Regions from separate parts of the Homo sapiens genome. Here region 1 is linked to region 2. The links are contacts of gene promoters, found by promoter capture Hi-C in blood cells and fetal thymus (Javierre and others, 2016). All regions are on one chromosome and are shown on one strand. Each heading gives the region's core, a stretch centred on a gene start or on the middle of the fragment in contact. The rest is flanking DNA. Distances are from core to core; before and after follow the strand shown.

What was found. The method cuts DNA at HindIII sites, captures the fragments that hold promoters and counts their contacts. A CHiCAGO score of 5 or more calls a contact.
Region 1: a contact is called between a fragment that was not itself captured here and the fragment with the promoter of TOP3B in region 2, in 2 of 17 cell types (M0 macrophages and M1 macrophages). The highest score is 7.3, in M0 macrophages.

What each region holds. Positions count from the first base shown.
Region 1 is chr22:21,709,823-21,714,938 of GRCh38, forward strand. It overlaps YPEL1 (yippee like 1), which reads right to left. Exons shown (of 5, transcript NM_013313.5): 2 at 806-1,086. The coding sequence starts at 922. Among named protein-coding and RNA genes, the nearest start is that of YPEL1, 23 kb to the right of the region's middle. RefSeq lists enhancers at 221-1,420, 3,789-3,838 and a silencer at 4,047-4,205. The HindIII fragment of the contact is 3,252 bases long and covers 1,964-5,116 here.
Region 2 is chr22:21,981,233-21,986,218 of GRCh38, forward strand. It overlaps TOP3B (DNA topoisomerase III beta), which reads right to left and starts at 1,555. Exons shown (of 18, transcript NM_001282112.2): 1 at 1,498-1,555. RefSeq lists enhancers at 956-1,942, 1,440-1,734. The HindIII fragment of the contact is 18,886 bases long and covers 1-4,986 here.

The DNA of each region.
Region 1 (5,116 bases), core at 2,340-4,839, 270 kb before region 2:
GGATGGGTGCAAGTCATGAATTGAGCATGGGGGAGGTCATGACCTGTGAGGATGTGGGAGGTCATGACCTGAGGATCGGTGGTCATGACGTATGAGGATGCGGGGAGTTCATGACCTGAGGCTGGGGGGATGTCATGACCTGAGGATGGGTGGAGAACACTGTCATTCCGACTGAGCATCAGCTCCTCCATGATGTTTGGCCTGTTTAAATGTTCACAACTGGTTGATGATCAACGCCACACACTGCTAATGAGGAGCTCAGCACAGTAAGGAGGGGCCAGGGGATCTTGTTTACATCTTCAAGGCTGCTCATGGGTTCTATGCACAGAGACCAGCCAGAGCTTCACCCAGGGCTCCTACACAACCGACAAACGCAGCCACACCCTCTGGGGCATTTTTCTGAGCAACCCCTTTCCTTCTTAACCATGCTGAGTTTTTAAAATGTCTTAATACCCTTATTATTAAACCATTTCCACAGATTTTTCTAGACTTCTTTTGCTCATTCAGTCCTCTCTGGCTTTCTGCTGTGAGTAACAAGTGATTCACCTTGCCCCTCGTAATCCCTGGGAGTGCCAGCTGCCTGGCCCTGGAAAACCGCCCACCATGCCAGGATCACATCTGAGATCGTGGCACAGCCACACTTAACCATGCACAAAACGCTCACCAATGCTGCCTAGAAGGCTCTAGACGTTCAGGACACAGCAGACTCAGGAAGTCATGTGATGCTTAAATATTCTTCCACTATGTAGGTACCACAATGACAGATAATCATTGTGCCATCAATTTTTTGGCATAAGCCACTTGCCTTGGAGATGAGCTCGTCATGATTGGCCAGGTGTGCTCTGCAGTGGATACAGCTGTACGTTCGGTGACAGTTCGGCAGATACGCTTGGAAAGTTTTGGACTTTGTCATTTTCACCATCTCTCCTGGGCACTCCTCACTCAGCTCAGGGCTGGTTCTGGAAGAACCGTGGCTCTGCTGGCCTCTCTGACAAAAGCAACACTGGAAAATGCACGCAAGAGCCGTCGTTGTCCAGGAGGGCGTGTGGCACTGTCCACACAGCTGGGACGAGAGAAAAACGTAACCTGCCAACCAATCAGACAAAGTGGTGGGTTACAGAGAGAACATGCGTGTGAAGCAGGTACATATGGGATTCATGTGTTGTGAAGCAACACGCGGGGTGGGGGGGTGGCAGGACTAGAATTTTTTTTTTTTTTTGAGATGGAGTCTCACTCTGTTGCCCAGGCTGGAGTGCAGTGGCGCAATCTCAGCTCGCTGCAACCTCCTCCTCCTGGGTTCAAGCGATTCTTCTACCTCAGCCTCTGAGTAGCTGGGATTACAGGAACACGCCACCAAGCCTGGCCTCCCAAAGTGCTGGGATTACAAGCACCACTGCGCCTGACCAAGATCCAACTCTTTAGTATCAATTGTAGACAAAATGAACACTGACACCATGCCACTGCTTAACCACTTTACATTTAGTTGGAAGTGAAAAAATGAACTCCTTTTACATGCAAATAATTTGAGAAAAACATTGATTCAAATTCTTCTTATACCAGGTTTGGCTTTGGAAACATGAAAGGAGAGGCAGAACCAAGACGCCCGGTGAGTGGGCCCGGTGGCAGGGCTGGATGCACCCCACCCCGAATCCGGGAATTCACCACGCAGAGCACCAGGACATTGAGGAATGTGAGTGATGGATCCAGTATTATTTAATCTTTAAGAAATTCCAGTCCTGAAATAAACCCTTATGTATGGTCACATGATCTTCAACAGGGTGTCAAGACCATTCAATGGGGAAAGGACAGTCTTTCAACAAATGGTGTCACAACAACTGGATATCCACCTGCAAAAATATAAAGTTGGACTCTTACCTAACACCGTATACAAATTAACTCAAAATAAAAGACCTAAATGTGAGAGCTAAGACTATAAAACTCTTAGAAGGAAACACAGGGGAAAAGCTTCATGACATTGGATGTGGCAATCATCTCTTGGATACGATACCAAAAGCATGGGCAGCAAAAGAAAAACAGACACATTAGACTTCGTAAAAATTCAAAACTTCTGGCTCGGTGCAGTGCTCACGCCTGTGGTCCCAGCACTTTGGGAGGCTGAGGTGGGTGGACCACTTGAGCCCAGGAACTCAAAACCAGCCTGGGCAACAAAGCAATACCTCATCTCAACTAAAAATACACAAAATTAGCTGGGTGTGGTCCCTGTGCCTGTGGTCCCAGCTACTTGGGATAGCTGAGGTGGGAGGATGGCTTGAGCCTGGGAAGTTGAGGCTCAAGTGAGCTGAGATCGTCCAACTGCACTCCAGCCTGAGCAACAGAGTGAAACCCTGTCTCTAAATAAATAAATAAAAACTTTTGTGCTTCAAAGGATACTATCAACAGAGGCAACCCAGAGAATGAGGGAAAATATTTTTAAATCATATACCTGATAAGGTGTTAATATCTAGAATACATATATTCTATATTCTCTCTATACATATTCTCTATATATCCATATTCTCTATATATCCTAGTTATTGGAATATGTAAAAAAAAAAAAAAAAAACAACTACAACTCAGCAAATCAAACAAACAGGTTAAAAAATGGATAAAGGGCCGGGTATGGGCCCGGCGTGGTGGCTCACGCCTGTAATCCCAGCATTATGGGAGGCCGAAGAAGGTGGATCACTAGGTCAGGAGATCGAGACCACCCTAGTCAACATGGCGAAACCCCGTCTCTACTAAAAATACAAAAAATTAGCCGGGCGTGGTGGCGGGTGCTTGTAGTCCCAGCTACTTGGGAGGCCGAGGCAGCAGAATTGCTTGAACCCAGGAGGCAGCGGTTGCAGTGAGCCGAGACCATATCACTGCACTCCAGCCTGGGCGACAGAGTGAGACTACATCTCAAAAAAAAAAAAAAAAGGAAAATGGATAAAGGACCTATGTATCTATATTCTCTATATATTCTAGTTGTTAGAATATGTTAAAAAAAACTCAGCAAAAAGAAACACAATCTGATTAAAAAATGGACAAAGGACCTATATATCTATATTCTATATAGTTATTAGAATATATTTAAGAAACTCCTACAACTCAACAAAACAACCCCAATCTGATTAAAAATGGACAAAGGACTTATATAAACATTTCTCCGAAGAAGATATACAGATGGCCCACAAGCACGTGAAAAGGTGCTCCATGTCACTGATCCTGAGGGAGGCAGACAAGGACCACGTTGAGACACCACCACACACCCTCTAGGACGGCTACTATCAACGCGCACACACGGAAAATAAGCGTTGGTGAGGATGTGGAGGAATTGGAGCCTTGTGCATTGAGGGTAAAAATGTAAAATGCTGGAGGCACTATGGGAAACAGTATGGTAATTCCTCAAAAAACGAAATATAGAATTACCATGGGCTCCAGCAATTCCACTGCTGGGTATAAATCCACGAGAACTGAAAACAGGGTCTCAAAGCCATGTCTGCACACCCATGCTCACAGCGACATTATCCACAACAGCCACGAGGGGGAAGCAACAGTGTGTCCCTCCACAAACGGGCATTCTCATGATCAAAATGTGGCGTCTGCATACAGTGGAATGTTATCCAGCCTTTAACAGGAGGGGGCTCCTGTCACAGCTACAGCATGGAGGAACCCTGAGGACACTATGCTCAGTGAAGTAAGCCAGTCACAAAGGACAAATATTGTATGAGGTACTTAGAGTAGTGGGACTCAGAGACAGAAAGAGCTGCCAGGGGCAGGGGAGTCCCCGCTTCATGGGTGCAGTGTTTCAGTTTTGCAACATGAAGAATTCTGGAGGTTGGAGGGTGGCGATGGCTGTACAAAAATGTGAATATATTTAATGTCACTGAACTGTACACTTAGAAATGGTTAAGATGGTAAGAGTTATGTGTACTGACTACAATTATTTTAAAGAAGAGTGTATCATTTTTACATTTCTAAGGTCTCATTAACAAAAGAAGGTTAAGTCCATGACTGATGCTGCCATCATCAGCAACAGGACGTGCGCCAAGTTTTCCTGGTGGCACCACCCCAGCCTGGCCTGTGACAAGGGGCCTGCAGAGAGTCAGGCACACCGGATTTTCTTTCAGGCCAAACAGAAGAGCAAGGGTTTCCCCAAATTCGAGAGCACGGGGCTGGGAAGAAGAGCCAAGCGCCAGCAGTGTCCTCACACCTGCTCCTCCTGAGATGCACCCCCCACCGCCCCCCACCCCATGTGACCTCTGCTCCGGCAGCAGCCTGTCCTGTGCCCTTCCATGGGATGACACCCAGGACGGCGTCTGCCCCCCACCTGCGCAGGCACGCCTGCATTAGAGGGTCACCTTCTCACATCTGGGACTGAAGATGTGTGTGGGCAGAACGCAGCGTTTGTAATCGTGTGAACGGAAGACACAAACGGCCGGTGGCGGCCACCCAGGATGGTACTGGGACCCGGTCACCACGGCGCTGCTGTGCCCTTCCTTGGTGCCCCGGCCTGAGATGCTGCCTAACTTGGACTTGGTGCTTCTTGGTCTTTGCTTGTCCTGATGGCTGTGCCCCGTGTGTGGCCCTGAGCCACACTGCTGCGTGTTCCGTGTTTTGAACTTGACACCGACGATGCTGTGAGACTTCTCTGCTGACGTGCAGCCAAGTCTGCCTCTGTCCCCATGTGCAGCTGGGCCCCCTTCACCTGGTGTCCCGTCAGATACACTGCATGCAGCCACTGACGGGGTGTGGATGTGTATCGGCTCCCAGGCTGGCTACTAAATGGTGCTGCTGTCGCTGTCACCTCTCCTGAGCCGCACAGGCAGGTGTTTCGTTGGAACAATCCCAGGAGCAGATGCCCGTGCACACAGCAGCACCTCCCAAGTGCCGGTGACAAGGTCATCCTGCCAGCAGCGAACATGAGTCCCTGCTGATCTTTATCCCGCCAACTTGATATGGTCAAATTTTAACACTTCTGCTGCCTGGCAGGTATAAGGCAGCAGCATCTCATTGTGGCTTTAATTTGCTTCAACCTGACCATACAGGTGGGCACCTTTTATGATTCCTCCTTTTCAAATCTTTGTCACATTTTCTATTAGCTGCTGGTCCTTTCCTTACTGATTCGTAGGAG
Region 2 (4,986 bases), core at 305-2,804:
CTAGGCAGGGATGCTAATAGGTGCTGCCATTTTATTGGCCTAGACTGGGACTGTGGGGTCAGAGAGACCAGAGCTCCAGTGGCTGGACTTGGTTGTTCTAGAACCCGTGCCCCAAGCCTGATCCTGTCCTGCCTCTGTGAGCACTCTGATGGAACAGCAGCCCAGCTTTGCTTCCTTGTAGCACTCATCACTACACTTGGTACAGCTTCCATCTACTTATTCAGCTCTTGTCTTACAGCTCCTAGAAAGTAAGTAAGCAGCAGGAGAACACGGGTTTTGCTTTGTGCATTCTCACGGTAAATAGACAGTGAGCAAATACTTTGCGAGGCTGAGGCAGGTGGATCACCCGAGGTCAGCAGTTCAAGACCAGCCTGGCCAACATGGTGAAGCCTGGTCTCTACTAAAAATACAAAAATTAGCTGGGCGTGGTGGCGCATGCCTGTAATCCCAGCTACTCAGGAGGCTGAGGCAGGAGAATCACTTGAACCCGGGGGCGGAGGTTGCAGTGAGCTGAGATCGCGCCACTGCACTCCAGCCTGGGTGACAGAGTGAGACTCTGCCTGCAACAAAACAAACAAAAAAAGAAACAAGCAGATGTGGCCTGGGAGTAGGCCTAGCAGTGGTCTGAATAGCATTAAAATTCCTAGGATTTACCACCTCAGTAACTTTACCAAATGCTTCTAGAATCAGGAAAAGAGGGAAACAACCATTTCTTAAGCTCCTCCTTTGTAGTAGGCACACCATAGCTATCAACACTATTCAATCTCGCCAGCAACCCCATAAGGCAGGTGTTGTAATTTTTTAAAACTGTGAGTAAATGGAGGTTCAGAACAAGTCACACTAGTGTCAGGTGACCTTGGCAAAAGAATCCCAGGACTGGCTGGCCATCAAGCCCAAGTTAGGCTGGCCTCTCAGGTCCTGTTTCAAAAGGTGAGAAGATAAAAAGGCAAGACTAGGAACATCTTACCTTTCACTTCTGCGAGAAATTATTGCCCCTGGATTCCAGCTAATTTGTTCACAAAAGTACCCTACTTCATTTACAGATAACAGGTCAGAGAACCTGGGTGCCCTCAAAACCCAGCCAGGGCCTAGGGGGCGGCGAGTGGAAGCTGCCTGGGTGTGTACCGCACCGATCTGGGCCCCGGTGGCTGCACAGCTTCCCTGAGCCTCAGTTTCCCTACCTGTGAGACTGGTACAGCAGATCTCACCCTAAAGAGCTGTGGGAGGGTTCGAAGAAGAAAAGTATTAACCACAGCGCCTGCTCCCTGCAGGCACATGGCGGGCCCATCTCCACCTCCCTGAACCCCCACAGCAAGCCCCGCGGGAGAGTATCACCCCCGCCAGGGAAGAGGCAACAAGAATGCAGAGCCCGGCCCGGGCGCTCTCCCGAGCTCGCGGGTCCTCCGCCGGCCAACGTTCAGGAAACAAGCCAGAAAAATGCGTGCGCTTCCCGCCTTTCTGAGCCGCCGGGCGAGGGTCCCGCAGCCCGCCGCTCACCCACAGCCGCACCGCGGATCCAGCTCCGGTCCTTGTTCCCGGGGCGGCTACCGACAACCCCTATTTCCGGGTCCAGCCGCTTCTGGCGTCCCCGCGTCCGGTGTGCCAGCGTCTGCCCTCCGGCTCCGGCGGGTCGGCGTTCTTAGGTTCCGTGGCTCGCGGATTCCGGGAGCACCCCAGGGAGTGGCACTTGCACGCCGCGGACCGCAGGGATCCCCAAGCCCTGCACCCAGATTCTTCCCCGCCACGGAGAGACAATCATGACAATTATCATTACAATGATTATGAAAACTGGCATGAAAACATTTATGCTGTTAATAATTAAAATAATAAAAATGTACCGATGTGTGTATAGCAGGCTTCTTTTCGATGCTGTAAAAAAATCTGTGGAATGAATGAATGATCTGTGTAAAATATATTTGGAAGATGAATTCTAAAATTAAGTTATTTATTTATTTATTTATTTATTTATTTTGAGACAGAGTTTTACTCTTGTCGCCCAGGCTGGAGTGCAGTGGTGTGATCTCGGCTCACTGAAACCTCCGCCTCCCAGGTTCAAGCAATTCGCCTGCCTCAGCCTCCTAAATAGCTGGGATTACAGGCGTGCGCCACCACGCCCAGCTAATTTATATGTGTATGTATATATATGTGTGTGTATACATATATATATATATTTTTTTTTTTTTTTTTGAGGCGGAGTCTCACTCTGTTGCCCAGGCTGAAGTGCAGTGGCGCAATCTCGGCTCACTGCAACCTCCGCCTCCCGGGTTCAAGCGATGATCTCGCCTCAGCCTCCCAAGTAGCTGGGACTATAGGCGCTTGCCACCACGCGGGCTAATTTTTTGTATTTTTTTAGTAGAGACGGGGCTTCACCGTGTTAGCCAGGATGGTCTCGATCTCCTGACCTCGTGATCCGCCCGCCTTGGCCTCCCAAAGATTTCTATATTTTTAGTAGAGACGGGGGTTTCACCGTGTTAACCAGGCTAGTCTTGAACTCCTGACCTTAGGTGGTCCGCCTCCCTCGGCCTCCCAAAATGCTGGGATTACAGGTGTGACTCTTCACGCTCGGCCAACTAATTTATTTGTTAGAGCATTAGGATTATGGAAGGTTTAAAATACGTTTTATGATCTTATTTTAAATAACATACACACATTGCCCTTGTTCCTTGTAGATTTTCCCAACCTGCTGTTTTTTTTTTTTTTTTTTTAAAGACAGGGTTTCACTCTGTCACCCAGGCTGGAGCGCAGTAGCGAGATCACAGCTCACTGCAGCCTCGATCTCCTGGCGTCAGGCGATGCTCTCACCTCAGCCTCCCCAGTAGCTGGGACCACAGGTGCCAGCCACCAAGCCCAGCCAATTAATTTTTTTTTTTTTGGTAGAGATGGGGTCTAGGGGGAGGGTCTCACTATGTTGCCCAGATTGGTCTCAAACTCCTGGCCTCAAGTGATCCTCCTGCCTCGGCCTCCCAAAGTGCTGGGATTACAGGGGTGAGCCACTGTCCCGGGCCCCAACCTGCCTTTATTGGAATGATCTGTGTAAAGTATATCTGGAAGATGAATTCTAAAATTAAGTTATTTATTTATCTAATTTATTTTGATAAATAATAAGTAGTCTGGATAGAGGCTCTGGAAAAAGAAAAGTTCTATAGGCAAATTAAGGTTTGGAAATGTCACAAATTATGAGTCACGGTGAGACTTCACTTTCAAAGCAGAACTCCTGATTCCAAACCCACACCTTGGTAGGTTCTTCGTCTCCAAAATGGCAACTCCATCTTCCTGGTTGCTCAGGGACAGAGCCTGGGAGCATCCTGGACCACCCACAAATCCTGCCATTACTGTCTTTACAATACAGATGCTCCTCAACTTCAGATGGAACTACATCCACATAAACCCATCTTAAGTTGAAAATATTGTGACTCGAAAGTACGTTTTTGACTTATGGTATTTTCAACTTACTATGGGCTTACCCAGATGTAGCCCCATCATGAGTCAAGAAGCGTGCAGAATGCATACTGGTTTTGTAGTTGAAAAATCCTGTAGGTGGAAATTGTCCTAAATCGAAGACTGTATATCGGAGATCCCCTCAAGTCTCCCTGCCTCCCTGCCACCACCCTGATCCGAGCTCCTCCTCTCCCTCCAGGTCTCCACCTTGCCGCCCTGCAGTGTGTTCTCCACATACCAGCCAGGGCTAAGATTGGCTCTGTTGGGTGCTACCAGTTGGCTGAAAGAGAAACCCAGAGGCCCTCAGCTCATTCCATCAATCCAGTTCCAGAGTTCATTGTATGGAGCCCTAGGAAGGACCTGAGGCCTGGGCCAGCAGGAGGCGCTGAGTGGTCAGCTCTGAAGGCCAGGGCGTCGGGAAGTGTTCTTGGTCAGAGCAGAGAAACTGCAGTTGCCTTGTGCTTTCTTCCCGGAGAGCCCTGCAGCTGACCCTCTGCCAGAGCTTTGGGTCAGGCTTTCTGACTGACCCTTAGGTTGACAAATGACCCAGATTCAGAGGAACCCTTCAACTTGGAGGTGTCTCCCTATTGGGACTCCCCCCAACCCCAGCTCCACTCTGACCAGGGAGATGGTGGCCTAGGATCGACTCAGCGAGAGGGGCCGTTCTTCTTTCCCCATGGCTGGGGAGAAACTGACTCCCCTAAAGAGTAGCAGCAGACTTGCCTGCAGAGGCCTCCTCTAAGGAGTGTGCAGAGGCCATGAGAGAAACTCAGGTGCCCAGACACCGCCATGGGACTTCAGGAAGCAGAGCCCTGGGGTGTTTCCACCATGGTCTTGACTTTTCTCCTCTTCCTTACCCTCCTCACTTACTGGGCAGGTGCCTGGTTATGGTGGATGGGATAACTGAGGGCTCCTGGACCTCTCTTCTCTCTGGTTCGGCATAGGCTGGTCCATGATTTTGATAATACTATTAATAGTTAACATCATGCAGTGCTTACTTACTCTGTTCTAGGCACTGTTCTGTTACTGACACAATCCTCATTACAACACTAGGAATTAGATATTATTATTATCCTTATTTTACACATAAAGAAGCAGGACACATAGGCCAGGCGCGGTGGCTCACGCCTGTGATCCCAGCACTTTGGGAGGCTGAGGCGGGCGGATCACCTGAGGTCGGGAGTTAGAGACCAGCCTGACCAACATGGAGAAACCCCGTCTCTACTAAAACTACAAAAAATTAGGTGGGCATGGTGGCGCACATCTGTAGTTCCAGCTACTCGGGAGGCTGAGGCAGGAGAATCGCTTGAACCCAGGAGGCGGAGGTTGCAGTGAGCCAAGATCATGCCATTGCATTCCAGCCTGGGCAACAAAAGCAAAACTCCATCTCAAAAAAAAAAAAAAAAAAAAAAAAGAACCAGCAGGACACAATGATGGAAGTGGCAGAGCAACCTAGTTCCAGAAGCCACTTTTTTTTTTTTTGACGGGGTCTCACTCTGTTGCCCAAAGTTCTGGGATTTATGGGCATGAGCTACCGTGCACAGCCTT